7 separate regions of the Homo sapiens genome follow, and all the other regions are linked to region 1. Evidence: promoter capture Hi-C in 16 types of primary human blood cells and fetal thymus (Javierre and others, 2016). All regions are on one chromosome and are shown on one strand. Each heading gives the region's core, a stretch centred on a gene start or on the middle of the fragment in contact. The rest is flanking DNA. Distances are from core to core; before and after follow the strand shown.

Evidence for each region. Contacts are between HindIII fragments. The CHiCAGO score rates a contact against its expected background, and 5 or more counts as called.
Region 2: the fragment with the promoter of HIF1A here is called in contact with the fragment with the promoter of PCNX4-DT in region 1 in 2 of 17 cell types (fetal thymus and total CD4 T cells); the score reaches 5.2 in fetal thymus.
Region 3: a contact is called between a fragment that was not itself captured here and the fragment with the promoter of PCNX4-DT in region 1, in 1 of 17 cell types (fetal thymus). The highest score is 6.4, in fetal thymus.
Region 4: the fragment with the promoter of ACTR10 here is called in contact with the fragment with the promoter of PCNX4-DT in region 1 in 8 of 17 cell types (activated CD4 T cells, non-activated CD4 T cells, naive CD8 T cells and 5 more); the score reaches 11.3 in activated CD4 T cells.
Region 5: a fragment that was not itself captured here is called in contact with the fragment with the promoter of PCNX4-DT in region 1 in 1 of 17 cell types (erythroblasts); the score reaches 5.5 in erythroblasts.
Region 6: the fragment with the promoter of TIMM9 here is called in contact with the fragment with the promoter of PCNX4-DT in region 1 in 4 of 17 cell types (naive CD8 T cells, total B cells, naive B cells and 1 more); the score reaches 9.7 in naive CD8 T cells.
Region 7: a contact is called between a fragment that was not itself captured here and the fragment with the promoter of PCNX4-DT in region 1, in 1 of 17 cell types (fetal thymus). The highest score is 5.1, in fetal thymus.

Annotation. Positions count from the first base shown.
Region 1 is chr14:60,089,471-60,093,358 of GRCh38, reverse strand. It overlaps PCNX4-DT (PCNX4 divergent transcript), which reads left to right and starts at 1,613. Exons shown (of 5, transcript XR_943918.4): 1 at 1,613-1,656. PCNX4 (pecanex 4) reads right to left here and starts at 1,436. Exons shown (of 11, transcript NM_001330177.2): 1 at 940-1,436. RefSeq lists enhancers at 609-1,242, 1,206-1,395, 1,486-1,615. The HindIII fragment of the contact is 2,213 bases long and covers 162-2,374 here.
Region 2 is chr14:61,692,959-61,696,846 of GRCh38, reverse strand. HIF1A (hypoxia inducible factor 1 subunit alpha) reads right to left here and starts at 1,334. Exons shown (of 15, transcript NM_001530.4): 1 at 1,008-1,334. The coding sequence starts at 1,042. HIF1A-AS1 (HIF1A antisense RNA 1) reads left to right here and starts at 1,024. Exons shown (of 2, transcript NR_047116.1): 1 at 1,024-1,140. RefSeq lists silencers at 876-975, 1,276-1,575 and an enhancer at 1,646-2,015. The HindIII fragment of the contact is 8,611 bases long and covers 1-3,888 here.
Region 3 is chr14:61,764,960-61,768,874 of GRCh38, reverse strand. SNAPC1 (small nuclear RNA activating complex polypeptide 1) reads right to left here. Exons shown (of 10, transcript NM_003082.4): 2 at 1,840-1,999; 3 at 1,523-1,663; 4 at 135-239. Among named protein-coding and RNA genes, the nearest start is that of SNAPC1, 4.5 kb to the right of the region's middle. The HindIII fragment of the contact is 1,111 bases long and covers 1,958-3,068 here.
Region 4 is chr14:58,198,745-58,202,564 of GRCh38, reverse strand. ACTR10 (actin related protein 10) reads right to left here and starts at 2,416. Exons shown (of 13, transcript NM_018477.3): 1 at 2,271-2,416. The coding sequence starts at 2,347. RefSeq lists enhancers at 2,034-2,223, 2,844-2,973 and a silencer at 2,384-2,773. The HindIII fragment of the contact is 4,366 bases long and covers 2,058-3,820 here.
Region 5 is chr14:61,712,805-61,716,779 of GRCh38, reverse strand. The region is part of intron 1 of HIF1A (hypoxia inducible factor 1 subunit alpha); the gene reads right to left. It overlaps HIF1A-AS3 (HIF1A antisense RNA 3), which reads left to right. Exons shown (of 3, transcript NR_144368.1): 3 at 952-1,222. Among named protein-coding and RNA genes, the nearest start is that of HIF1A-AS1, 19 kb to the right of the region's middle. The HindIII fragment of the contact is 2,514 bases long and covers 60-2,573 here.
Region 6 is chr14:58,426,071-58,430,085 of GRCh38, reverse strand. TIMM9 (translocase of inner mitochondrial membrane 9) reads left to right here and starts at 2,555. Exons shown (of 6, transcript NM_012460.4): 1 at 2,555-2,694; 2 at 2,844-3,032. It overlaps KIAA0586, which reads right to left and starts at 2,367. Exons shown (of 31, transcript NM_001329943.3): 1 at 1,623-2,367; 2 at 653-723. The coding sequence starts at 1,821. RefSeq lists enhancers at 2,096-2,285, 2,356-2,405, 3,420-4,015. The HindIII fragment of the contact is 11,466 bases long and covers 1-4,015 here.
Region 7 is chr14:58,244,328-58,248,251 of GRCh38, reverse strand. PSMA3 (proteasome 20S subunit alpha 3) reads right to left here and starts at 3,409. Exons shown (of 11, transcript NM_002788.4): 1 at 3,311-3,409; 2 at 420-502. The coding sequence starts at 3,331. RefSeq lists enhancers at 2,936-3,385, 2,500-3,397, 3,566-3,765, 3,806-3,855. The HindIII fragment of the contact is 2,580 bases long and covers 531-3,110 here.

The DNA of each region.
Region 1 (3,888 bases), core at 364-2,863:
GGGGGGAGGGAGGTGGTGACTGCTGAGGGTAAAAGGTTTCTTTTTGGGGTGATGAAAATGTTCCAAACTTGACTGTGGTAAGGGTTGCACAATTCTATAAATGGGTGAATTGTATTGAATGTAAATTACATCTCAATAAAGCTCTTAAAAAAGAAAAAGCTTCCCTGATTGGTATTTTCCACAGCAGTTAATAATTAGAAGGCAGCTCTTTAAGTAGGAAATTTAGGAGCAGCCAACAGATGCTACAAACAGTTAAATTCGTGAAAAGGCAACATCTGAACTGGATGCTATGCTAAAGGTCTGGGGATTTGGCGTGAGTGGCGGTGGATACCAAATAACATGAAGGGCAGTCTTTGCCCTAACTGCAGGAATGATTTAATGAAGAAAACAAACACCTAAAAATAGTAAAAAATGAGTAAGTGAAAAATGATGGATACAGAGCAGATAACCAATTCAGCGGCATGGAAAACAACTTCCGATTCACTGGAGTAAATTCTGGTCCTGGAGAGACAAGAGGTTGTGGGGACAGAGGTCGAGATCAGTGGGGAAGGAGCGCTTCACGTTCAGGGGGCCATGAGTTGAACAATTCGGACAAAAGAGGTTTAGTTGGAGATATTGCGAGAGTACAGTTCTACCTAACGGACACAGCTCCGGGTGGGTGTGCCATATTCCATTTCGTACGAGTCTCTTAGAAACAAAATGCTACAATTCAACAGGCTAAAGTAGTCTTTCAAAGGAAAGTTAAAATCACACTGAATTACTATCTCTAATGACTGAGTTCATTAAGCGCAATAATTGCACTTAAAGGTTTTGCAACGAAAAACGAAAAATATGTTTCTTGTGGCAATGAAAGCCCCTAGAACAACTTGGCTCTCCGCACAGGCTTGGACATTAAGATGCCGAAGAAGTCCCGAGGTGGACGTCGGACAACGAACGTACCTCAAGTCACCCGAGGGAAGAGAAGACGCGAAGGCATCCCAGGGACCGCATTTTTGCAGGTAAACTCGGGCTGGGCGCTCCCGCCGGGAGGTTGGTTAGTGCCCGAATGCGGAGGCAGAAAAGCTGCGGCGGCCGAATAACGAGCTCACCGCGGCCCCGCCCGGGCCAGCTCTCGGTTTCCATGGCTAACGTCTACTCCGGCGGCCGCCACCCGGAGCTGAACGGAGCGCGTGCGCGTTCGGGGACCTCGTCGGCGCCTGGCTGGCCTCGCTGCCCCGGTCTGTGCTCGCTCCCGAGGCGGGCCCTGCCGTAAAGCAGGCTTGGCCTAGAGGAAGCAGGGAAATAGCGCGCTTCGTTCGCGCCAGGACTAGGCCAACATCTGCCTGGCCGGGGACGACGGGAGTCGCTCGTGCTCTGGTCTCGCACTGGGCCTAGCAGAAGCAGCAGCGGGGAAAGCCGAGACGCCCTGAACGTTCCCTTGGGCCGGGCCTTTACGCAAGAGCGTCGTTGCCCTGGTGACGTGACGTCCTTCCTCAGGATTGTGCGCCGGGGTGGGGAAACAGACGTGCAACCGCCATTTTGCGCATTAATTTACCAGAGGTCGGGTCAGGCTGTCTTAACGCAGGCAGAGGGGTGTGGCAGATCTCCAACCGCTCGGGGTCCCGTGATTTCCATTAATGAATTCGCACACTGGCGTTACCACTCAACACACCGACGGTAATGAATGTTTTTGAGTGATACTTCATGCAGCCTATTCGGCTTGGACGATTGGGGACTGCATAACGTGATCGCTATCGCCTCAGTTTGTGGCTGCGTTTTAAAATACAAGGAACCAACATGTCCATTATAGAAACGTGTTATTAAGATATTAATAAAACAAGGCAGAGTTCCGGCGTTCCAATTAAAAGGCCATGGCTGATTCATATTAGTGTGGCGGGAATCTTTACAGCCTGGCCGCAAAGACCCCAATTAACGCTAGTTAAAAAGTTATCCCTATACCCAGGGCTCACCTCCCCCATTCTCCACGAAATATGATCCCCCCCCCGCCCCACCAAGTTCTGGACACGTTCCAGATTGCCAACTGGGAGTCCTCAAGACGGCCCCGGAGAGCGTTAACAATGATTGGTCTCAGCTGATTTAGAGGCTCGGGTAAGGGAACTTTGAAGCTAACTTGTCGGTATCAAGGTACCCGCAATTCCCCCATGTGATTGGGTAGATGCCCTAGCAGTTCTGCACACTTCAGCGTCCAAGATGACTTGTGGACTGTTTTGTTTGGATCTCCATTCCTCAAAACTATAAATGCGGCCTTAATTTTTTTTTTTTTTTAATTCTTGGCTCTTGGCTGTCTTGGAAATGCTGACTTTGTATTTAAGTATTTAGGTTTTCAGGTCGTAATAGAAAAATAATTACTGTGTTCATATTAAAAGCCAAAGCTTTATTTATTTATTTTTAAGATATTGTGTCCAGAGCAAAAGTGTAGTGTGTTGAAAGCATGTGGAAGAAAACCCCGGATATACATATACTTGTCTTCAAGGACTTAATTTGCAGGTAGACCCTTTCATAGTTTGGTATCTTCACGATTTGATAGAATATGGGAAAACGTGCTGTTGGTCCATCCATAGTTTTTCTCATTGAAGCTCACTCATTGCGGGTCAGAGTACCACATTAAGCATCTCGGAAGCATCACTTACCGCCAAGAAGTCTGAGTTTCATGTAATTAAGAGTGGAGGCTCCAGAGTCAGGAAGTCTGGGTTGAAACCCTGGCACTACTGCTTACTACTTGTGAGATCTTGAGGTTATGTAATTTCTCTAGTGCTCAGTTTCCCCATATCTTGTAAAATAAGGCAAATAATAGAACTTAACCCGCAGAGAGTTATGTCATTGGATTAAATCAAATAATTGTAAATTGCTTAGCAGAGTAAATGGCACAGCTTAAGTGCTTAGTAAGGATGAGCTATTATCTTTATGTAGAGAGTCTGTATTTATGCTTGTTCTTCTCATGGGCATTACATATGACCCAAGCAGAATTAACATGTTTATTGTTGAAATATCTGCTGTTTTTCAAATATATTTGAACATCGTGCTTTCTTAGAATAAAATTAGTAGGGCATATGGTACAAGCCCTTTGGTTAGCTGTGTATAAAATATTCATTCAACATTTATTGAAATAGTGAAGGGAATAGTGGTTCCTATTTGTCAGGAACTACACTAATTGCTGCAGATATAAAGTCAAATAAAACATGATCCTTAAGGAATTTACCAAAATATAACTTGGACATCAAGGACATAACTTGAACAACAAGGACATCAGTAATTACAGTGTATGTGATAAACAGGTATGCGCTGAGCTTCAGAAACAAAGTGGGACACATAATTCTGGGGAAATTAAGGATGGTTGCAATCCATTTTTAAAGGGTGAGTGGACAGCTGGGCCAGGCGTGGTGGCTCTTGCCTGCAATCCTAGCACTTTGGGAGGCTGAGGTAGGAGGATCGCTTGAGCCTAGGAGTTTGAGGCAACATGGTGAAACCCTGTCTCTACAAAAGATACAAAAAATTAGCCAGGTGTGGTTGTGTGCGCCTGTGGTCCCAGCTACTCAGAGGCTGAGGTAAGAGGTTGTTGCAGTGAGCCGAAATTGCACCACTGCACTCCAGCCTGGACAACAGAGTGAGATCTTGTCTCAAAAAAAAAAAAACAAAACAAAAACAAAAACAGAGTTAGCTGGGAGAAGAGGTATTCCAGGTAGGGGAACATTTATTCTTTAATTCATTCAACACATACTTAGAGCATACATAGAATCAGTACTTTGTGTACCTCATTTAATCTTAACCTTATGAGGTAGCTTATTATTATTTCAAATGTAAGGAATCTGAGCTTGAGAAAAGTAAAATAAGTGATGACATCTGGAGTTGAGTCCGTATCTGTATGTCTTCAAGATTCGTGTATTTTTT
Region 2 (3,888 bases), core at 85-2,584, 1.6 Mb before region 1:
ACTTACTTTAGATATATGTTGACGGTTTTCCTTTAATATACTTCAATTTCAGGAAAATGAGACAGAGTTCGAAAATTTTTGCAACATTTTAGTGCCGCATTTCATTCACTCATCATATACTTTTTTCAGTATCATTAAAACTGCCTAAATTTAACCAGCCCCTACATTTTCATTATTTGAAGAATGAATGAGGCATATATTCATTTATAATATCTGCGTTCTCGTGACAGGTGATATGAACTCAAGTATCCAATTCTGAAGTTCTCTTTAAAATGTTGCCATTTCCCTAAATTCCCATTACTCTGACTCTCAGTCTAGGCAAGTTTTTCAAGGCGATTAAAACGAAACAAAACCTGCACGTGCAAACTAAAAAGTTCGCATCTTAAGGCCATCGCGGCAAATCCCTAATGCACAAAGGCAAAGACACCCGCGACGGCTGGACAACTACAGGACAAGATCGCATCCGACCACGCGAGTCCCTCAGTCGGGAACTCAAGGCCCCAAGTCCACTGGAAAGCCAGGACCAGCGTGCAGGGTCCGCCCCAGGGCCGAGTTTTCAATGGAACTGGAGAGGATGGGGGCGGGAAGGAGCGGAAGCTCCGGGTGCAAACCGCGGCTACCGAGCTGCAGCTCATTTCTCTTCCCGGGGTTTTCAGGCTGGGTAAAGTCCCCTCCGGATGGGGCCACAGAGCAGGCTGGGTTTTTGAGGCGGGTAGGTGGGCGGCGCGAGGCCCCCACGGCCGGCGGGGAGGGCAAGCAGGGCTCAGACCCCGGCCCCTGAAAGCACTTTCGAGGCGTCTCCCACCCCCCACGACAAGATGGCGACGTGGACAGCGGGGGAGCCCGGCCGGCGAGGTTGGGGGAAGAGAGGGGAGGGGAGCAGCAGCAGAAACAAAAAGGCTGCCCCCCCCAATCCCATTAACGCCGAGGCCGGCCCAGGAGCCCAGGGCGGGCAGGCGGGCGGGGTCGCCGGGGGAGAAGGCGGCGGGCCGAGGGAATGGGCTTACTTTTTCTTGTCGTTCGCGCCGCCGGCGCCCTCCATGGTGAATCGGTCCCCGCGATGTCTTCACGGCGGGCGGCCCCCAGGCTCGCTCCGGCCTAAGCGCTGGCTCCCTCCACACGCGGAGAAGAGAAGGAAAGGCAAGTCCAGAGGTGGGGGTGCGAGGCGGGAAACCCCTCGTGAGACTAGAGAGAAGCGGGCGGCAATCGCCGGGGTCCGGGCCCGGCTCCGAGCCTCTCCTCAGGTGGCTTGTCAGGGCCCAGCCCGACACACTGGCCGAAGCGACGAAGAGGGTGATCCTCCTGTCCCCTCAGACGAGGCAGCACTGTGCACTGAGGAGCTGAGGCAGCGTCAGGGGGCGGGCAAGGGCGGAGGCGCGCTCGGGCGCGCGGGGAGGGGAGAGGGGGCGGGAGCGCGCCCGCTCGCCTGCCCAGGCCGGCGCGCGCTCCCGCAAGCCCGCCTCACCTGAGGTGGAGGCGGGTTCCTCGAGATCCAATGGCGAGCGACGCAGGCGGCAAGTCCCCACCCCAGCCCACGCCGCTCTCAGCCAATCAGGAGGCGGTCAGCTGAGGCACAGCTGGGACGGGCTGCGACGCTCACGTGCTCGTCTGTGTTTAGCGGCGGAGGAAAGAGAAAGGAGATGGGGGTGCGGCTCAGCCCGAGTCTGGGGACTCTGCGCCTTCTCCGAAGGAAGGCGGTGCCCGGCTTTGGGAGGCGCTGCTGAGAAGGGATTTCGGTTGCCTGGTCCCAAACATGCATCATATTTTCCTACTCTTGGTGCAGTAATGTAATGCTCCTGCTCTCTTTCTCCTCGGCCTCAGTGCTGGGCACGATTGCCGCCCAACTCTGCTGGGCTCTCTGTTCAAAAAAGCAGACTTCGCCTCGTGGCAGCAAGCCCTTCCTTTGGTCTCGTTGCTCAGATGTGTTACAACGGGGTCTTTCCTTACCAGATTACCTAACCATGGGTCAATGTCACCCACCGCACTCTTTGCCACGGAGCACAGGGGAACTCACCTTGTCTACTAAGTTTTTCTGTGGCGGAGTTTACTTACTGAATAAATGCAATTAAAAATAAAAATGAACTCCTGTTGCTGTAAACTTCAAGGGAAATAAAGTTGCAGGGAAATCTTAAAATCTGAAACTATGTTAAGCATTTGCAAATAGGTATAAATGACTTTAATAAGCATATAAACCAATTTCAGGGAAAGAGTAGAAAAAATGGCCTTTGGCAACTTTGCAAGCTACTAAACAAAACATAATCACTTTTGTCTTTGGAGGCATAAACTTCAAGCCTGTCAGTCTTCTAAAAGAAAAATATGTTTTGAGCCCAACAAAGTAGCATTGCACATATATCTCCACTTGGCGCTAAATTATTTTACTTCTCACCTTTGCCTTATGAGTTTCTTGTTAAAACCTAGCTTTGGGTTGTAAATATAAATATCTGTAGTGGCTTTCAATTGTATTAGCATGTAAAAACAATGGTCTATATAGAAGCATCAAACTCTGACAAGACAACAACCAATGTATACAGCACCTCTTTTTAACTGGTCAGTAGACCTACAAAGATACGATTAAACATTGACCTTAGCGGACAGGGTGGTTCCAGCTACTCAGAGGTGTGAGGCTGGAGAAGCCTGGGTGTTCCAGCCTAGGGAACGTAGCGAGACTCCGTCTCTTTAGAAAATTTTTGATCTTCACGCTACTTTTGTTTTTTCAGATCTACAACACTAAATGATATGTATTATGTCTTGAAAAGAACCATGGGAAATGCCTGAAGAGAAGAAAGAACTAAAAATAATTACTCATAATTTCTTTTTTAATTGTGGAAAGAATACTGTAAATTAAAAACTTTTTAGTTTAACATTCTCAAGATACTGTGTTAAGAACACTGGCTCCAGAATCAAGCGTGAGCTTGTACACAGGCTTTGAATCTTACTGGCAAGTCGTTTAATCTCTCCATAACTCAGTTTACTTATTTATAAAATGGATATAAAAGTGTCTATACCACAGTATTATGGATGGTTAAATGAGATAATAAATGTATACTTAGAACAATATCTGGTGCATAGTAAGCACTCAGTAAATGTTAGCTCTTAGTATTGTTGGTGGCGTTATTATTATTATCATTATTATTATTCTGAGGCGGAGTCTCGCTCTGGCCCACAGGCTGGAGCGCAGTGGCGCGATTTCGGCTCACTGCAACTCCGCCTCCCAGGTACAAGTGATTCTCCTGCCTCAGCCTCCCAAGTAGCTGGGATTACAGGCACGCACCACCACACTCGGATAATTTTTCTATTTTTAGTAGAGACGAGGTTTCACCATGTTGGCCAGGCTGCTCTCGAACTCCTGACCTCAGGTGGTCCGCTCGCCTCGGGTTCCCAAAGTGCTGGGATTACAGGCATGAGCCACAGTGCCTGGCCTATCATCATTATTATTGCCCTCAAATTTATTCCTCTGTTAACAGTAATTACTCGGGCTTCTCCTACAGTTTAGCCATTTTTAACTATCCAAGAATACCAATTATGTTAATATAAATCCACATATATTCTCTATTTTCAACTTTGGAACTGCCCATCGTGTTCCCACCCTCATTTATGAGGATAGCTGCAGAGATCTTCCATCATTTCCCTTTTCATTATACTTATAGCAATTATCTCTGGCCAGTGATTATAGTATATAATGTTTGTGACATCAAAAGACAAGCATTTTGTAACAGTAAATCTAAGTCATTTAAAATTTTTTTGGATCATTTCAAAAGTTTAAAGCAGAATGATAATTTGATCAGCAAAAAAATTTTTGAATATTCATTAAATATGCCCTTAAGTTAATTTTCCTTTTCAAAAATGTATAAAATATATGTTTATGTATATGTGTATACACAAATATAA
Region 3 (3,915 bases), core at 1,264-3,763, 1.7 Mb before region 1:
CTAGAGAAATAGCATCCTAGAGTGGTTAAAATCATTAGAAAAATCAGTATCCAGTAGATGAAGGTATAACCTCAATATGTAGTTGGCAATAAAACAATTTTTAAAAATTTTCAAGAGCATAAAAGAAAATTTACCTCTAATACATCAGAAGTGATAAGTTTCATCACACGATCACTTGGGTCCTTAAATTCTTCTGTAACTTCAGCTCGGTGAATTTTTTTCTTCATCCTATATGACAGCTATGTGATAATACGTGTCTTTTTAAATGAGTATCTTTTAAACAGTATTGTTAAAAGTATTGAAATATAAGCCAGCACTAAAAATTGTCTATAAGTAAACACAGATAAAACAAAACCAGCTGTAAGGGTACATCTGTTAAATATCCACGTTCCAAAGACTGTTAGACTTGTGAAGTATCCTCTCACATGCCATGCCACATGCCTACAAATTCAGATAAGACAGAAATTACATAATTTGCCAGCTAATGGCAGAACCAGAACTAGTGCTCTTCAACCTAGTGTCTCAATTACCACTAGATTAAAAAAAAACAAATGCTATTAGAAGTTTCAACTTTTCACCAAAGAATTTTTAACAATTTTGTACGTCTTTCAGTAACCTCCTCTGATGTTTGAGACATGAGCAAATGCAGATGCCAAATCTAATTTGTTCTCAAAACAGTTCGCTTAATATGTGGCACCCAGATACACTGCATTTAAAAAGCAAAGGCTAAATTTTTGCTTGCAGAAAAAAAAGTAGTAATTAGAAAATACCTTCTCCTATTTTAAAAAAGCTACAAGGCCGGGCATGGTGGCTCACCTGAGGTGAGCAGCACTTTGGGAGGCTGAGGCGGGTGGATCACCTGAGGTCAGGAGTTCAAGACCAGCCTGACCAATATGGTGAAACCCCATCTCTACTAAAAATACAAAAATTAGCTAGGCGTGGTGGAGGGCGCCTGTAGTCCCAGCTACTCAGGAGACTGAGACAGGAGAATTGCCTGAACCCTGGAGGCGGAGGTTGCAGTGAGCTGAGATAGCACCACTGTACTCCAGCCTGGGCGACAGGGCAAGACTCTGTATCAAAAAGGCACACACACACAAAAAAAGTTACAAGCCAGGCCGGGCGCAGTGGCTCACGCCTGTAATCCCAACACTTTGGTAGGCCAAGGTGAGTGGATCACGAGGTCAAGAGATCAAGACCATCCTGGACAACATGGTGAAACCTTGTCTCTACTAAAAATACAAAAATTAGCTTGGTGTGGTGGCGCATGCCTGTAGTCCCAGCTACTCAGAAGGCTGAGGCAGGAAAATCCCTCGAACCCGGGAGGCGGAGGTTGCAGTCAGCCGAGATGGTGCCACTGCACTCCAGCCTGGGCGACAGAGCAAGACTCTGTCTAAAAAAAAAAAAAGCTAAAAGTCTTGAACACTATCAATACTTATTCCATTTTCTGGAGATTGAGAGGTTTTATGGACAATAAAGTATAATTGCTCATTTTGAAAAAACCAAATTATTTTAGGCAACATACCAATTTGGGCATTGCTGTAAAGTGAAATGCTCTGTCTAGTCGTAGCTTCCTAAAAATATAAGCTGCATCAAAATGCTGTGCATTTACTAAATCTTGCTGAAATTTTAAAACTTCATCCCAATCCTTCAGGGCAACTCTGATCTGCAACCAGGAAGAAAAAAAAGTTGTACTAAATGTAAATATTTTTTCACAAACATATTATAATTTTAAAATACTGGCATTTTATTTAAATCATATTTAATCATATAATATTTATTATAAAAATATGGTACTTGTTTTACATTTCTGCTAAGGAAAAATAACTCACTAAGTATTACCTTTTGTTTTGGTTGACACAGTTGGGTATTATATAATCCATATAGCAGATACAAAGCACCAACTCTGATCTGGAAGGTGTATGGAGGTAAAAAATATCGCCAAGCCAAAGCTAAAGCTTCTTTTGTAAACATGTTCTTTTCTAAATTTCTCATTCTGCCACTAATAAACAGAGAGAAAATATATTACGACTCATTAAGTGAATAAGTAATGAACAAAAGCCAAAAGTATATACTTGTTTAAACGGTAGTTATAATTTGATGAGGATTCCATACCTGATTCTTTCATGATTCAAGCACAAAGAGATAATTTTACACCAAGGCAAAGGCAACTACTAGGTAAACATGACGCAGCTTCCAAAAGCATCAACTTTACTTGCCAAATTGAAGAGCAAGAAGGAAGGGGTTTCAAATTACTATTGGTTAAATATTTAAAACCCATAATGTTAAAATAATCATGGTTATGTTACAGAACTATGTGCATTTTAATATACAATTGCCAAAAATGCTTGTTCTTTGGTGCTATAAAGAAGTATCACTTGAACGTAAATTTTATTTCTTCAGCAAGGCCATTTTTTTACTTTCTGCACAAAAGGGTACAGTCGCCAGCAGTTTTGCTACACTGAACAAAGGAGACAGGGTCATTTATAACTTGACACATCTACTTTACTGCTGTGTCCGGTTTCTATTGGCTGGAACGGGACTTCACATTCTGTATCTGTCTTCATTGACTAGCAACTTAGAACTTGAAGTAACTTGTGGAATGCTGAGAAAGGTAAAAACACTTTTAAATAAGGAAGAAGAACAGGCTATGACTTAATGCTTGCTTGGACCAGTATAAGCACGCCAGGGCAAATATTTAGGCTAAATTGTGGGAGCTAAGAACATAAAATACACTGATTTCTTTATTACAGCTAGCAGATATTTAAGAATGTTAGCATAGGTCTTTGAATAAATTTTGCTTCTAAGATAAGTTACTATTTAGTCTTAATTAGATGGGGAGGAAACTCTTTGAAGCAGAACCTCTACTTTACTTTTTACCTAACGAACATTTTCTCCAATACTCTCAGGGATTTGCACTAAATCTCCTCTGTCCTTGCGAAGCCGAGGCGAAAAAGATAGAGAAACAGCACAAAGTAACCCGCACTCCTAATTGTCCAGAGCACTGCAAGCTCATCAGAAGAAAGGAGGAGGAAGGGAGAAGAGCATACTCCAGCATACAACCAAAAGCTTTGTCCAAACATCCAAGAGAGCAACAAGGCTTTGTTGGCAATCAATCAATGAAATAACATAGGAAATGTACATGAAAGGAAAGTATCTTGGGCACCCAAGATCACTAAGGAAAACTCAAGCTGGAAACTGCTTAGGGCAAACCTCTCCCATTCTATTCAAAGTGACTTCTCGGCTCACTGAGATAGATGCATATCTGATTTGCCTCCTTTGGAAAAGCTAATCAGAAACTCAAAAGAACGCAAGCATTTGTGTATCACCAATCTGTGACCTGAAAGCTCCCTCCCCACTTCCAGTCTTCCTGCCTTTGCTTCAAGTTGTCCCGCCTTTCCAGAACGAACCAACGTACTTCTTGCATATATTGATTGATGTCTCATGTCTCCCTAAATGTACAAAACCAAGCTGTGCCCTGACCACCTTGGGCGCATGTCAACACGACTTCCTGAGGCTGTGTCACGGGTGCGTCCTCAACCTTGGCAAAATAACCTTTCTAAATTAACTGAGACGTGTCTCAAATTTTCGAGGTTCACATATATTTTCTGTGGATATAAACAGCATAATGAATAAACTATCTGAAACTGTTCTGCTGTGCTAAGTTAACAAAAAATTTTAAAAAACAAGGCCTTAAAAAAGTCAATGTAACAGTCTTCTTACCACTTTGGATAAAACAATGAAGCCACATTTGTGCATATTATAGGTTTCTATGTAAGACCTGAAATTAGTAGATAAAAAATGCCAGATTTTAAATAAAACATTAGCTAAAATAAATGTCTCAAAGTGTTGATGCGAGTGACTAATACGCTATACAAATATAAATATGTAGAACTTTTACTTTAAAACCAGCAACAA
Region 4 (3,820 bases), core at 1,167-3,666, 1.9 Mb after region 1:
TCACCCAGGCTGGAGTGCAGTGGCGCGATCTCGGCTCACTGCAAGCTCCGCCTCCCGGGTTCACGCCATTCTCCTGCCTCAGGCTCCTGAGTAGCTGGGACTACAGGTGCCGGCCACCACGCAGGGCTAATTTTTTTTTTTTTTTTTAGTAGAGACGAGGTTTCACCGTGTTAGCCAGGATAGTCTCGATCTCCTGACCTCGTGACCCGCCCGCGTCGGCCTCCCAAAGTGCTGGTATTACAGGCGTGGGCCACCGCGCCTGGCCAACTTTTTTCCTAGTTGTTAATTTTAGCAGAATTTAGGCAAGACATATCTACAACTCTGAATCTGTACTACATTATGTGACTTCATTCATATAATTCATCTGTATCACTCATAATTCCATCATTCTAATATTGTTAGCTTCCATATTGGTGTATTCACTTTCAGTCTACTTCTTATGATTATGCATATATATTTGACATAGTTTTAATCACACTTCATACATAATTAACTCATACAGTAAGCTTCTGCCCATATTAACATAATCTTCATTGCTATCACTTTTTTTTTTTTTTTTTTTGAGGCAGGGTCTCGCTCTGTCGCCCAGGCTGGAGTGCAGTGGCACAAACTCAGATCACTGCAGCCTCCGCTTCCCAGGCTCAAGCGATCCTCCCCCCTTGGCCTCCCAAAGTGCTAGGATTTCGGGCACGACACTACCGCCGGCTAAATTTTGTATTTTGTGTAGAGCTGGGTTTCCCCATGTTGCCCAGGCTGGTCTTGAACTACTGGGCTCAAGTGGTCAGCCCGCCTCAGCTTTCCAAACTGCTGGAATTACAGTATTATTTTTAAAACCACATATTTCATTATTTTAAAAACGATGCTCTTTTCTTGAGTATTTAGGTATTTCCATTTTTGTTTCATGTTAGTAAAACAAAAATTTGCTAAAAACGTTGCTAAAAATGATCATCATACTAGTTTAGTCTTAACATCCTGTCTTCTTGTCCTGTCTAGTTTTTGATACTGCTCTCCTCGTATTCCCAAATAATTCTCTCCATCTCCTCCTATTCCCGTCTCCATGTTTACTTGCATCAGTGCTCCTCAAACATCTCAGAATGCAAGCCATTAGACTTCAATTCCTTTTTTTTACTTCATACATTTATCTTATCATCCTCCTGCTGTCTTTTTCAAATATAGCTTTTTGCTTATTTCTTCCAAGTACAGCCAAAATAATTATCTTTGACTAGAAGCCTCGAACTGTTTATTACGCTTTCAAAATAATTTTAATAAGAAAATATAAATAAGGAAGGGCCTCGCATAGAACAATAAGAGAATGTCATTAACCAAGGACTATGTTTAATCCAATTCTGGAGTTCCTGGGGTCCAATTTTTAAATAGGCTCTTTTAACCACTTAGTCAATAAATAGTTATTAAATACCTACTACACGTCAGGAAGTGCCTAGAGATATAAAAAGATTTTTCAAATGTTTCATTTTCATAAATACATATATGATGTAATTGCCTGTTACTTCCCTCTCTGTTGAGCCCATCACAAGGACTCTTAATCTAGGGTCCCAGGACCACATTGATTGTCTGCCAATTCCCTGAAACTGTGTATAAGTACCTTAAGATTTGTGCATTTGTGGTTTTCATCCAGCCATTAAAGAGATCTATGCCATCCGAAAGGTTGAGAACCTCCTCTCTATTGTTTACAAGTTGGTTTGTTTAAAACATGTCAAATCTAACCTTCGAGTTTAGGGGAGCCAACAAAGGATTTCCAGAATCTTATCTATAGGGTTTCACCTCTTAATGTGCCCAGTCTCCCTAATTCTTGAGCAGCGATAGCCCTGTCTTAAACATCTTTCCATTTTCAGCACCAAAATAAACTCCGTTCAATATTTTATGATGAAATTCGTCATCGAGCATTTACATTCGGTTGGCTGCCTTCCTCAACTGAGGAGCCCAGGGTAAGCGGGGTCTAGGTCACGGTTGTCATCCCCTACACAGATGATCCCAAAGGGTTTGTTGGGTTTGGGGTGATGACAAGGGGCGGCGACGAGGGCAATTCAACAGAAGCTTTCTGGGCCTCTCTGGGAGTCAGACCCCGATCCTCGGATTCGCATCGCCCAGGGAGGAAATAATAAGAGCTGTTATTTGCAAGGGCGCTGGTTGAAGAAAAGGGGAGGCCCGGAGCTGCCCAGCGAGTCGGCGATGAGGACCCAGGCAGTGCCTGGGGCTCTGCCACCCGCCCTCCCCTCGGGTCGAACACAGCTGGCGTCACGGCCACTCACTTGGTAAAGGCCTCTCCCAGGTCGATCACGACCGCCGTCTTCTCCCCGCCGCTCCCCAGGCCCTCGTAGAGCGGCATGGTAGTAAGGCAGACTGAGAGAAGAGGGTCGCAGTCTCCGCGGCCAACAAGTCTCGGCGCTCGCGGGGCGGGGCCGGGGCTCCGGCGCTCGGGCGTCGGCGACGGCGGGGGCCTCGCGCGGCCGCGGCGCGCCGGGCCCGGGCTGTCCCAGGCTGTGCCTCATTCCGCGTTGGACCCACCCTTGCAGGTGCTGCCGTCGCCAGGACTAGGGGAAAAGAGGCGCTGGCGGGCGCGAATCCGAGTGCGGGGGCGCGGAGGCCGCGGCGATCAGGCGCGCCGGTCGCCCTGAGGGGGCGGAGCCGGCCTCCCTATCCTTCCCTCCCACCACGCCCCAAAGCCGCACCCACGCGCGGCTGTGAAGAGGTTCGGTCTCAGCTCACTGTGAAGAGGTCACTGAGGACCTGGCTGCCAAGGGGCAGCCGAGAGACGACGCAATTCCGAACCTTTGATTCATGCTCTTGGGGGGCAGAAGATGCTGAGACCCTATTCTGTGCTAGGCGTTTTGCCTAATATTTAATCTTCTCAAGAAATAACAAGAATATGTGTTTTCTTATCTGTGGGGACCGACGCTCAGAGAGATTAACTTTCCCAATGTCCCACGGCAGAGCCAGGAACAAACCCACAGACTTCCTAATTGCAAAGCCTATGCTAATGATGCTTTAGAGAATAATACGTACAGACAATACTTTAGTTAGTAGTCTTTCTGAAAGTTTTTATTTTACTCCAGAATTAAGCAGCTAGAGTAGCGTCTGTGAATCTTGAATCTGTCCATAGAGGAGCGGTCGGGATGGTTTAATAGAAGAAACATTGAAGCAAAGGCCCCTATTAGGTTGGTGCAAAAGTAATTGCTGTTTTTGCCACTACTTTTAACATTTACATTACTGTTTACATCTTTGTCACTTCACAGCTTTCTGTGAAAATATTTTTTTCCTGCAAATATTAGCTCTAACTGTATCTATGCATAGGAGTGGAAAAGACTGTCAAAGGAGAGGCTGTGCAATAAGAAAAGAGGTTCAAGGGTAAATCGGTGAGGACTAGCAACATTTAGCTGGTGTACTGGGTTGAATGATGCCCCCCCCCCCAAAATTCTTGTCCACTGGGAACCTCAGAATGTGACCCTATTTGGAAATAGAGTCTTGGCAGATGTAATCAAGTTAAGATGAGGTTATACTGTATTAAGATGTCCCAACTGTCCGAGCGCAGGATCACACCTGTAATCCCAGCACTTTGGGAGGCCGAAGCGGGAGGATCCCTTGAGCCCAAGAAGTCTAAAGCGGCAGTGAGTCGGGATTGTGCCGCTGCACTCCAGCCTGGGCAACAACAAGAGTGAGAGCCTGTCTCTCAAAAAAAAAAAAAAAAAAAAAAAAGGCCCTACTCTAATGGTTGGTAACTAGAGTTAGCGGGGTAGTTGGGGATAAGCTATTTCCATAACAAAAACTAAGGCTGTAACAATGCAGAAATTTGGAATGTGAT
Region 5 (3,975 bases), core at 67-2,566, 1.6 Mb before region 1:
AATTATTTTGTATAGGAAATATATTTAGAAAAATAATTTTGAGCCCGTCTTATTAAGCTTCTTGTGTACAAAGTTCATGAATAAGCAAGAGTTGTTTTATAGAGAATGTCTATTGTTCTTCAGATTAAGAACATAAAATATTTAGTGCTTTGTAGTAGGTCAGTAAAAATTAAAAAAAAATAAAAGGACACAAAATAATTGTAGGCATTTAAAGTCATCTTTTCGTATTGCACAAAAAGCCTGTTAGCATTCCTAATTGTAAAAATATGTGACTTCAAGAACTGAAGTTAAACCATAACTATTTAAAATGTGAGCAGATTATCAGATTTACTTCTAATAAAGTTAATGTACCTCAATTATGTTATTTGGTGAAATAACTCTTTCTGGCCTTGAAGGTACAAGTTGGTTTTTGTTGTTTTTGCACTTGCGTCAGTATTTCTACAGGACTGACATTCTGAAGTGAAATTTCATGATATAAAAAATGTGCTACTGAAATTTTTTAAAATACACAATAGCTTTCCAAATGGTTCTGTGCCCATTTTTGTCTCTGCCAGTTCATGAATGTGTATATCAATTCCCCCATGCACTCTGCAATATTATATATTACGCATCTTTTTAATCTTATTAATTTCTGCTGAGCTGATAGGTGAGAATTATATCTCATCATTTTAACTGCCCTGCACTTCTTAAAGTCTCAGGCCCAAGAAAAATGCAAAGAAAAGTTCATGTTCACTCTTCAGTTGGCATTTTTGCCTGCAGTTTTATTTTCATTTTATTTTAGAGACAGAGTCTTGCTCTGTCACCCAAGCTGGAGTACAGTGGCATGATCATAAGCTCACTGCAGCCTCGAAATCGTGGGCTCAAGCAATCCTCCCCCTCCCTACCTCAGCCTCCCAAGTAGCTACAGGCACACGCTACCATGCCCAACTAATTCTGTTAAATTTTTTGCAGAGACGGAATCTATGTTGCCTCGACTGGTCCTGAACTCCTGGGCTAAAGCGATCCTTCTGCCTTGGCCTCCCAAAGTGCGAGGATTATAGGTGTGAGCCACCCAACCTGGCCTTTGCCAGTATTTTTAAATCCAAACACCTATGCATGGTGCTTACTAATAACACAGTGGTATTCTAAACATTTTTCACCTATTATTTAATCTTTATTATTATCACCATGTTACAGATAAGGACCCTGGCTAAATAGCTTACCCAACATTACTCCGTTAATAAATGGTAGAACCTGTATTTCACTCAAGCAGTCTGGTGTCCACGCGATTAACACTAGACTATGTTGTCTCTCAAAAACTCATCCTGATTACCAAGGCAAGTATTTGTAAGTCTAGGCTATTATTATAAAGTTCGAAATTTGCCTACTTCACATGCCAAAGACATAAAGAAGGAATTATAGGAGTTGGCTTCAGAATTTAGGACTTGACCTAAGCTATTCAGAGAAACTCAGAACCAGGCTCTTTCTTGGAGTTTGCTTATAAATCCAAAATCCTAACTGAAAGGCACCTACAATGGTAATAGATGCTCTCTGCTCTACTGTCCAGCAGCTCTTCAAAGCAAGGTAATCCCTTCCGGTAATGCCAATCATTATGGCGAAAGAGTCAAAAGATGGTAATTCAGTCTATACTCCCAGTAGACTTTATTTGTACAGAGCAGCTATTTCAATATCTAAGTTCAACATTGTTGGTGTTTTACTTGCTCAACATTTGTCTAGCAGTCACAGAAACTGTTTTTTTTTTTCCTGAGACGGCATTTCACCCTTGTTGCCCAGACTGGAGTGCAATGGCGCGATCTCGGCTCACTGCAACCTCTGCCTCCTGGGTTCAAGCAATTCTCCTGCCTCAGCCTCCCGAGTAGCTGGGATTACAGGCGTGTGCCACCACGCCCAGCTAATTTTTGTATTCTTAGTAGAGATGGGGTTTCATTATGTTGGCCAGGCTGGTCTGGAACTCCTGACCTCAGGTGATCTGCCCACCTTGGCCTCCCAAAGTGTTCGGATTACAGGCGTTGAGCCACTGCGCCTGGCCCTTCCTTGTTGTTTGTACTCATTTTTAAAGTTATTCTAACTTGTATTAGGCCAAATTAATGAAGAAAGGCTTAAGTTTTTAAAATATTAAAAATATTTTAGATCTATACCTAAAGCTAACACACATACTATAATGATGCAGTCTCCTAACATGAGGTGATTTTCTGAAACTAACTGGTTTTTAAGTGGGAAGGGTTTTGTCCTCCAGAATTTTGTATAATGGTGGCATAAACACTGGAAGGTAACTCTCAAGGTCTAATCCTCAAGGTTTTTAATTCCATCATTTCCCACAGGAAAACAAATGGAAAATCCACCAAGTTCTTGGTTTGTATTTTGCAGCATATTTGAAGGAATTTTAGGAACTGAAATACCAGCAAACGAATAAACAAAAAGTATAACACCATCAGTACTTACTAAAACAACATCTCACATTTCCATAAGAGAATTCAGTTACTGTTCTTTTTCCTTAAATGGCTTTGAGCATTGTCTTGCTGTTTGCATAAGACTGTTTACTAACCTGAGTGTTTTCACAGATTTGGGAAGCTTAGATTTTTGAACGTTCCAGCAAACATTCAATTTGGTGTCAGCTTGACATTAAGATATACTCCTTACACACAGCTCTACTCTATATTTCACAATGTGCTCAGTTAATCTACTTTGATTCTATTTTTATAAATCTAAATAATCTCCTATTGTTTTGGAAAAAACTCTCCAACAGCTTTTTTCCCCCCTCTGCTCCCACACCACAGCAATCAACAACACAGAAGACAACTTCTGCAACCCTATCGGGAGAGGAGGGGTTCTCTCCACCACCAGGTGAGCAATCAGTTCTGCAGCGGACACCAACTGGGTGTCCTTCAATTCAATTCTAACACTATCTACCTGGAGACAGTGTCAGGTTGAGGGCTCAGTCCCCAAGACTGCCCCCTCAACAGGAGTTGCAAGTCTGGCCTCAGGAACTTCTGACTGACAGGCTTCAAAAGTTGGGATTCTCACAAACCCATCTTTGCTGGAGCAGCTCACAGAACTCAGGGAAACATGTTTACCAGTTTATAATAGAGGATATTAATAAGGATACACATGAAGAGATGTGTAGGGCGAGGTATGGGAGAAAGGATGCATCTATCAAGTACCATGCACTGTGCTAGGTACTAGAAATATAGTGAGAAGTAGAATAGCCTTTGAGCTTAAATGGCCTCCCACTCCTTAGTCTACTGAAATAGTCACCTAATGCTTTATTCCCAAATGCTTGTCTAGCTGCATCGTGAAGGACATTCAACATTTCAAATTCCTAGGCCTCACTGGGAATTTGAATCTGTAAATTCTGATTCAGTAGATCTAAGTCAGGATCCCAAAATCTGAGTTTTTAAAAACTTCCAAGATGCATATGATACGTAAGTTTGGGAACCACTAGCTGATCATTATTGCTAACCACTGTTACTCTGCTTTAATTTCTTTCTGAAACCATCACCATAAAGATCCTTCCGAAGTAAAGAAATTTGGCATTATGGCCTGATTAAAATCCCATTAAATGTACACAGGACAAGGTCTAATTATTTAAAAGGAAGCCCTCCCTTACCTAGTTCCCTGTCCACCTCTTTATCCTCATCATTTTCCACATTCTTCAGCCACACTGCAGTTACTCAAAAGCACCATAGTATTTCCTTTCTGGCTTGCTTACTCTACTCCTTCTGCCTGGGGTACCATTCCCAATATGTGGCTTGGTAAATTTATAAGAGAAACTTTTAAAGATTTAATTCAAACATCATTTTGTTTCTGTTTTTTTTTTTTTTCCTCTGGCTTCCAAAACTGGTCCTCTCTGGTAGAACTGATCACTCTAGTTATTTGGCTATATTAATCTTCCTTCACAATGCTTAAAGATTCTTGGGGGCAGGAAACTGTCACACATTCATCTTTGTCTTCTCAGTAGTGATGTGCGTAAGTTTG
Region 6 (4,015 bases), core at 1,306-3,805, 1.7 Mb after region 1:
CTTTTGACAAAATTGTCATATAGTCTCAATTGAATTATTAGTTTGCCAGCTTCAATTTTCAAAATAGCATATTGTGAAACTCTCATTATACAGACTTATTAAACTGACAATACATAGGTCAACACTATGATTAGCCGTCAAAGTCTGATTAGATCTCATAACCAAAACATTGTATTTATCAAATACTTTCGGCATTATAAAGTTAAGATGATAATTTCATGTTATTCTTAAAGAACCTCCCTTCTAAGAAAACCAAAACCATTCTCACAAGTGTTAGAATGACATGCAAGCACACCTCACATTAAAGAAAAATTGTACTGTTAGTTGTTCCTTTTCTTTTACCTAAGAACATGTTAAGTCTCTGGGCAAGAACACCTTTTCCCTGAATAGTAAGAGAGTTTCTTTTCAGTTATCCTATCTCTTTCAGCGGCCATTATCTTACTAATAGGTATTTTTGATTCTAGGGAAGGCCTTTTGTTTAATGTCTCAAACACCATTCAAAGTCACAATTGTAGTATATAAAACATTTGTTTTGGTAAGTGATATTTAAATAAAAACAAGGCATGCTGCTAATCAAACATAATTTAAGAATGCATTATTTGACAATACTGAAAATTTTAACGTGAGCATAATTAAGAATCCTTTTGCTTACACTTTCTGACACCATGGGATTTTCTAATAGAGGCTGGTAACAATTTCTAGCAGAAGTTAAGTCTGATGAACCTAACAAAACAAAGGAATAGATTTTAGTGATTTTAAAATCAGATCCTTAGCTTTAGAAACTGTATATGCATGATTCAAGATCTATAAACTCCATATAACGCAGAAGTTGGAAAGACAATTTGCATGCAAAAAAAGTTAAGAAAATGTATTTAAACATATCTGAATGAAAGTTTTTACAGTTGATATTTGGGAAAATAAGGTTCGGTACTGACAATAAAGTGAGATTAAGCACGAAACATTTTAAAATATAACCATACACTATTGGATGTGGACAAACTATGGGTAGAAATATGTATACGATGTAAAGGTCTAATTTAACAGCAGTACTATTTGAGTGTCACCGCTGTATCCCCCAAAGAACAGCATTACAAAAGCGTTTTGCTGTTTTTGCTCACATATTCATTAATTTAATCCTCACAATTAGCAGCGAAGTGGGTAAAGCATATGTTATCCTTATTTTCACTGAGCTCTAGACAGATTAAGTGAATTGGAATATAGAAGCCATCAATTGGCAGAAGTCCTGCTTTTCCCACTATGAAAAGAAAGTAGTGAATTAGGTAAAAAGCACTACTTTGGGGGAAAACTATAAAAAACACTACGTGGGGGAAAATAAAGCACATTATACAAGTTAAGTGTATCCACCATAAATATAAAAAAAAAAATATGCAAAAGTCAATGCAAAAAAAAAAAAAAAAAGCACAACAGGGGACGTTAAAGTTTCATTCATTCCATCTATTCAAACATTTTATAGGCTTCCTGGCCATTTTCCCGGGAAACAGGGTCAGTTTTCAAACATCTGTACAAACTAGACTTATATCTTACGTTTGGGAATTTAAACAAATAAGGACTAAAGATTTACTAAACTAAAACTGGTTGAAAAACTACATGGAATCACATACCACGTGATGTTCCATTCAAACTAGTCCCCGTTCCAACAGGAAGACGTTTATTTGCAGACAATGCCGGAGGAACACAGGGCAACTCATCTTTCAGCAAAACCAAATGATCTCCATGATTTTGAGAAACTACCTCACGAAGTCTCTTCACTGGCATCTTAATCTTTTTTTTCTTCTCCAAGCTGACCTCAGAGCCTTTCATATTGTTGGTCACAAAACAAGTCCCACACTTAAGGACGGAAAAACTTTCTCTGTTTCCTTAAGACTTCAGAACAAAATTTTCACCTCTTTGCAATAACTGTTTTTAAAATGTCGAACATCCACAAAGCTGAAAATCTAAATTCTGATATTGAATCCAGGATTAGAGCTGACTATAAAGTCATATTTACCCATTAATCCCACTCAGTCTATTAATACACCACGCCAAAATGTGAAAGTGGGGATGACAAGAGAATGGCCACAGGAGCAACAATAACCATAACAGTGCACTCCCCAACCCCAGAGCTGGTAGGGCAAAACCAAACACATGTAGTGGCGGGCTTAAAATTTGTTGAGAAGAGGCAGTCAAGCAAATAAAAGCGAAATGCTATTTTTAAAATAATGACCCACATAAGAAGCGTAATAGCTTTCTTCAGCCACAGAGTCTTACACACCCCTCCAGATGCAATCGTCGGAAACATAAATTCACCCCTACGTATCTCCAGAACGCCCGAGACCCGCACCGTCGTGGGTGTAATCTGACAACAGCGTCAGTTGCCCGCAGGTCAACACCCACTTCCCTTCAAACCCGCCCTTGAGACACAACACGCATGCGCGCCAAGAAACTCACCCAAAACATCCAACCAGAAAGCTAAGCGCTCTCTGGTGCTCTTCCATTCCTCTCCGGGTGGAAACAAACTCCGGACATAACAGGGGTTTATTTATTTATTTATTTTAAGGTAGCACATTGCCGCACAAGACCGCTCTACAGTCTCATCCAAGACTTGAAGAGCTCCCGACTTGTAATACTACTTGTGTTTACCAGGGACTGTTGACACTGCTTCGCTTCCGAAGACCGTTAGGGACGTGGGATTAGGTAAATTAGGCTTCCAAGAAGTTTCGACAGATTCGGGTCATTATTGGAGAGGAAGTCGGGAATAGAAAGCGTTGTCTAAGCAGAAAATAACCGAAGTTAATCCTTAGGAGATTTTAGAATTCGCTGATGGTACCTGCTTTTTCTTCTAGATTTCCTCGCGTTATAACGAATCGGCGTCTAAGGGTTTAAGTGTCACTTGACATTACTGCTCCCACGTGTTCTTTCCCATCTGGCGGCCGCGGCTCCTGTCCAGACCCTGACCCTCCCTCCCAAGGCTCAACCGTCCCCCAACAACCCCCAGCCTTGTACTGATGTCGGATGCGAGAGCCTGTGCTTAAGTATGGTGTCTGTTCTCTGCCGTGAGAATCCGGGGTTCCCGGACGGGGGGTGGCAGGCTACGCTCCAGGAAAGTGGCGGGGTCTCCCGAGGAGGCCGCCGCACGTACCTGGAGCAGTGGGGGGTGCGAAGCGGGACAGCGCTTCGCCGGGTCGGGTGCAGACCTTCCTGGAGATGGTGTCACCTGGGCGAGGGTAGGAACTTTAGGCCCTGAGCCACCCCCAACCCGGATCTGGGGAGTCGGGGTCCTGTTTTGGGACACTGAATTAGACTATAAGGTATTTACGATGTGACCTTGAGCTGCCCGGGGGAAGATCCTCCTTTAAATGAAAATCGTCTTTAGACATAATACCAGGTCTAACACCCCTTCCCTGATCTGCTCATTTCCCAGGATGCGCTACTTAGAGCTTTCCCTTTACGCCTTACTGGAGGCTTTAGAATAATCAAAGCAGAAAATGTAATCCGATCTAAAAGCTAAATAACTAATTTTATTTCTTTTACATCTCGGCAGTCTACCTTCATAGAAGTCTAGACTTAAAATGGACTTTAAAGTCTGAGCGCGGTGGCTCACGCCTGTAATCCCAGCACTTTGGGAGGCCAAGGCGGGCGGATCACGAGATCAGGAGTTCGAGACCAGCCTGGCCAGCAAGGTGAAACCCCGCCTCTACTGAAAATACAAAAAATTAACTGGGCATGGTGGCGCGCGCCTGTAGTCCCAGCTACTCAGGAGGCTGAGGCAAGAGAATTGCTTGAACCCGGCAGGTGGAGGTTGCAGTGAGCTGAGATCGCGCCATTGTGCTCCAGCCTGAGTGACAGATCAAGACTGTCTTAAAAAAAAAAGAAAAAAAAAGACTTTAAGGGCTCAGCGTTAAAGACCCTTTTAATTATTATTTTTTTGTAACTTGCTGAGTTTCTCTAATGAGTTTTGTGTTGTTTTTTGAGACAAAGTCTCACTCTGTGGCACAGGCTGGAGTGCAGTGGCGCG
Region 7 (3,924 bases), core at 571-3,070, 1.8 Mb after region 1:
GTCTCAAAACAGAAACAGACATAGAAAAAATCTTTGCTGAATCGAACATGTGACTAATTGCATAAGACATTTAAAACACAAGATGTATGAGAAATAAAAAATAACAAGGTCACAAACCTAATGGCTGAGGAAGCCTATGATACAAATCAAGAATTTGAAAATGGAAAACAAAAAGATGATAATGAATGTGATTTATACACTCTGCAACATGGAAAATCTAAGTGGATAATCCTGGAATCAACGAGAAATATAGGACTGGGGCTCATGGAAAGCATCTGGCCTAGAAAGAGATCTGGAAATGAATAAATTGAGATTTGGGGACATATACTAATTTGTACCAAAGTAACATAACAAAGCCTAATCGCCAAAAATATATAAAATAAAAGGAGACATGTAATACCTGGTTAAATGTTTCTTACCTACTATTTTCCACAGCCTTCATAGCATATTCAACTTGAAAAACTCTTCCGTCAGGAGAGAATGTAGAGGCTGACAGGTCATACTTAAGGAGAAAAGGGCAACAGTAAGCTTGTATCTTTGGCAGTAATGACCATACAGTTTCTTCCCCTCTAAATGGCTGAAACATCAGGAACCTGTTATATCCCAACAAAGACCTTGCTTTCAAGAGAGGAAAGGGAAACTTGTCAGAGCAGCAACAGTAGCTAAGATAAAGCTATATACCTTCGATTTCAGCTATTGAAGAGTAATGGATACAGGTCCCAGGTGAAGTCAGAACACTTTTCACCCAGACTACAAAACTCATTTTTGAAAAAGATTAATATGGGGCAGTAGAACCAGCACTGGAGTTCGAACATTTAAATTTGTAACGATAACTCTGCCATTAACAAACTAAAAGACTTCAAACAAATCATTCGGCATTCACCAAGCAGTTAATGAGTATCTATTATGTTACTATACGGAATACAAAGGTATACTCATTCATTAAGTCCTTCAGTTTCACATCAGACATGAATCTAGGTGCTAGAGGTACAGCAGTAAATCAGAAAAGGCACTAAGATGAAAATAAAAGAGTAAAGCAATGAACTACTACAGACTACATCATCAGGGAAGGCCTTCTGGGCAGTTATATTTAGGCTGAGTCAAACCTAAATGACAAGGAGCTAGCCATTTAAGATATGAAGGAAAAGTCTTCTTGACATTTGGCACAAAGATCTTAGGGTAGAAATAAGGCTAGCACAGTCAAGAAACAGAAATAAGGTCACTGTGTCCCAAGCACTGTAAGCAGCAGAAAGAAGAGTAAACTGTGTTAGTGAGGTAGCTGAGGGCCAGATTATGTTGTGTCTTCCAGGATGGAAAAAGGACTCTGTATTTTATTCTAAATGCAATGAGAAATTTAAGCAGGGGGAGTGGTATCATCTATATTTTTAAAAACATCATTCTGGCTTTATGCGGAAAATAAGCTGTAGAGAGAACAACAGAAGCAAAGATAAGGTGTTCCAAAGATAGCGGTAGTAGCTTAGACGAGAGAAGAGGTAGAAGGGAATATTTTTTGAGAGTAGAGTAAAATATAAAAATAATAAAAATAAACTTGCTAGGCCAGGCGTGATGGCTCATGCCTGTAATCCCAGCACTTTGGGAGGGTGAGGCGGGCTGATCACAAGGTCAAGAGATGGAGACCATCCTGGCCAACATGGTGAAACCTCATCTCTACGAAAAATACAAAAATTAGCTGGGCGTGGTGGTGCGCACCTGTAGTCCCAGCTCTTCGGGAGGCTGAGACAGGAGAATTGCTTGAACCTGGGAGGCACAGGTTGCAGTGAGCCAAGATCGTGCCACTGCACTCCAGCCTGGCAACAGAGCAAGACTCCGTCTCAAACAAAATAAAAATAAAAAAATAAACTTGCTAAAGCGTTGGTTCTGGGAGTAAAGTAAAAAAAGGAATTAAAGATGAATAACAGATTTTTTCATATGACCATTCACTGAGCTGAAGACTGTAGTAGATGCAAAATGGCAAGGTGAGGAGAAAACCCAGAGCTCTACTTTCACATGCAGTACGAAATGACTATTAAACGATCAAGTGAACAGACATGTCAAGCAGACAAACAAATATTCGTATCTGGAGTTCTTGGGAGAAATGAAGACAGAAGAAAAGCCTTCAGCAGTGGTACTTTCTGAGTCTGTTTCCTGATCTGTTAAACCCAGATCATTAACCCTACCATTGTTACTAAAATATCCCACATGGTTACATTATCAAGTATTCTTTAAAAGGTTTGTAGAATGAAATACTATTAATTCAAGGTAATATTAATATAATTGCAAAGTCAGTTTGCTACAAGATTTAATATTGAGCATTTACTTATCCAAGAAAAGTATGGCAGAACTTTAGCATTCATAACTGAATGGATTAAACCATTCCAGACATAAGTTGCCTATTATCAAATTTAGAACACCGGTACTTGAACTTAAGGCTGAGCATGAGAATCTTGTTAAGAAGTAGAAATTGAGGAACTGAGAAACTCATTATTCAATAACTCTAGTGCAAATAACCAATAAATCTTTTAGAAACTGTATTTTCTATATAGAGAAGTACATAAAAGGAGTAAACTGACTGCACATATGCAATACGTTTAACAAAGGAAAGCCAAACAAGTTAACAAGTCCCACTGCAAAATCCTCAACAGTCTATGAAAAGTCTGAAGCTGTTAAGTTCCTAAGTAACCATTTAAACGTTTACGGAATAAATGCCTACAAGCGCTGTTAGGTAATTTGTATAGGAAAAACGAGAAAGGAAAAACTGAAGGATTCATCAGATTGTTTTTCAGACCATTTTTATTAGTTCTGTTCCGACAGGATTTCCAGTGACTCTTAAACTGAGCGGTCAATGATCTGCACACTTAAAGACAGAGAAGGCCTGTGAATCAGCAGCACCCTAGGAACTGCAAACGCAGTCCACAAAAAGCACGATCTCCAGACCCCGGAATCCCAAATCTCACTGCCTCGGTGGTTCTCAAGAGAACACACTATTTCAAGCCCCACGAGTTTCCACTTTCGGTTTCCCTAAGTGGCTGAAGAAAGTGACTCAGCAATCCAAAGCGGCTCCAAACCTCACTGCGGCGACGCCAAGCCGGCTACACCTGCGCTGAAAAGCTTCAGGAGTCACGGTCACCTGAGACGCAGGCCTAGCATATAGGGGATAAAGACGACCGGTCTCCAAACAGCTGCAAATGGCCCACCCAGCCGAAGGCGGTCTCAGAGCACCCCGGGTCCGCGAACCCCATGTGGTCTGTCCGAGTTCCCTTCAACCCCAATCCTTAGGTTAAACTATTACACCGACAGACAGCGAACTCACCCCAGTGCCGATTGAGCTCATCGTGCTAAACCCAAAGGGACGCGTAGGGATTCCAGGCCCGGAGCGCTTCCCCTATACCACAGGATGCCGCAAACTAGTAACAGGCCCGCTCATTGGCTGAACTGCCAACCAATAACCTTTTTCTCTGTGGCTCGTTCCGCGGCTCCGGCCCCCAGGACGAGGAGTATTGTGGGAAAAAAGCGGGCCGCGAGAGGCTGGCGGCGCGCATGTGCAGAAGCAATGGAGGCGGGGTTGGGGAAAGCAAAGGCTCCTCCTTCGGTTCGCGTACTTTGAGCCGCTTGGCGTCGTGGTATCTGAGAAGCTGCTCTATTCCTTTCCTTGGAATTATTATTTATCTTTTATATTATTATTCTCTCCTCACTTTATTCTTTCTTTAAGCCAAAGGGAGAGATGCTGGTATACTCTCACAAAAAGTAGAAAAAGCAGTAGGCGCGAAGTAACCTGTCTTCCTCCGCGTCCCGACCCTGACCCAGAATCTTGATGGCATCCACTTCACCTCCTTGTGCTCAGGCTCTCGTGAAGTTTCACTTAAAGGGTATCGTCTTTGAATTCAGCTTAGAATTTTACGGAAGTATTAGTGCTCTTTCTATGAG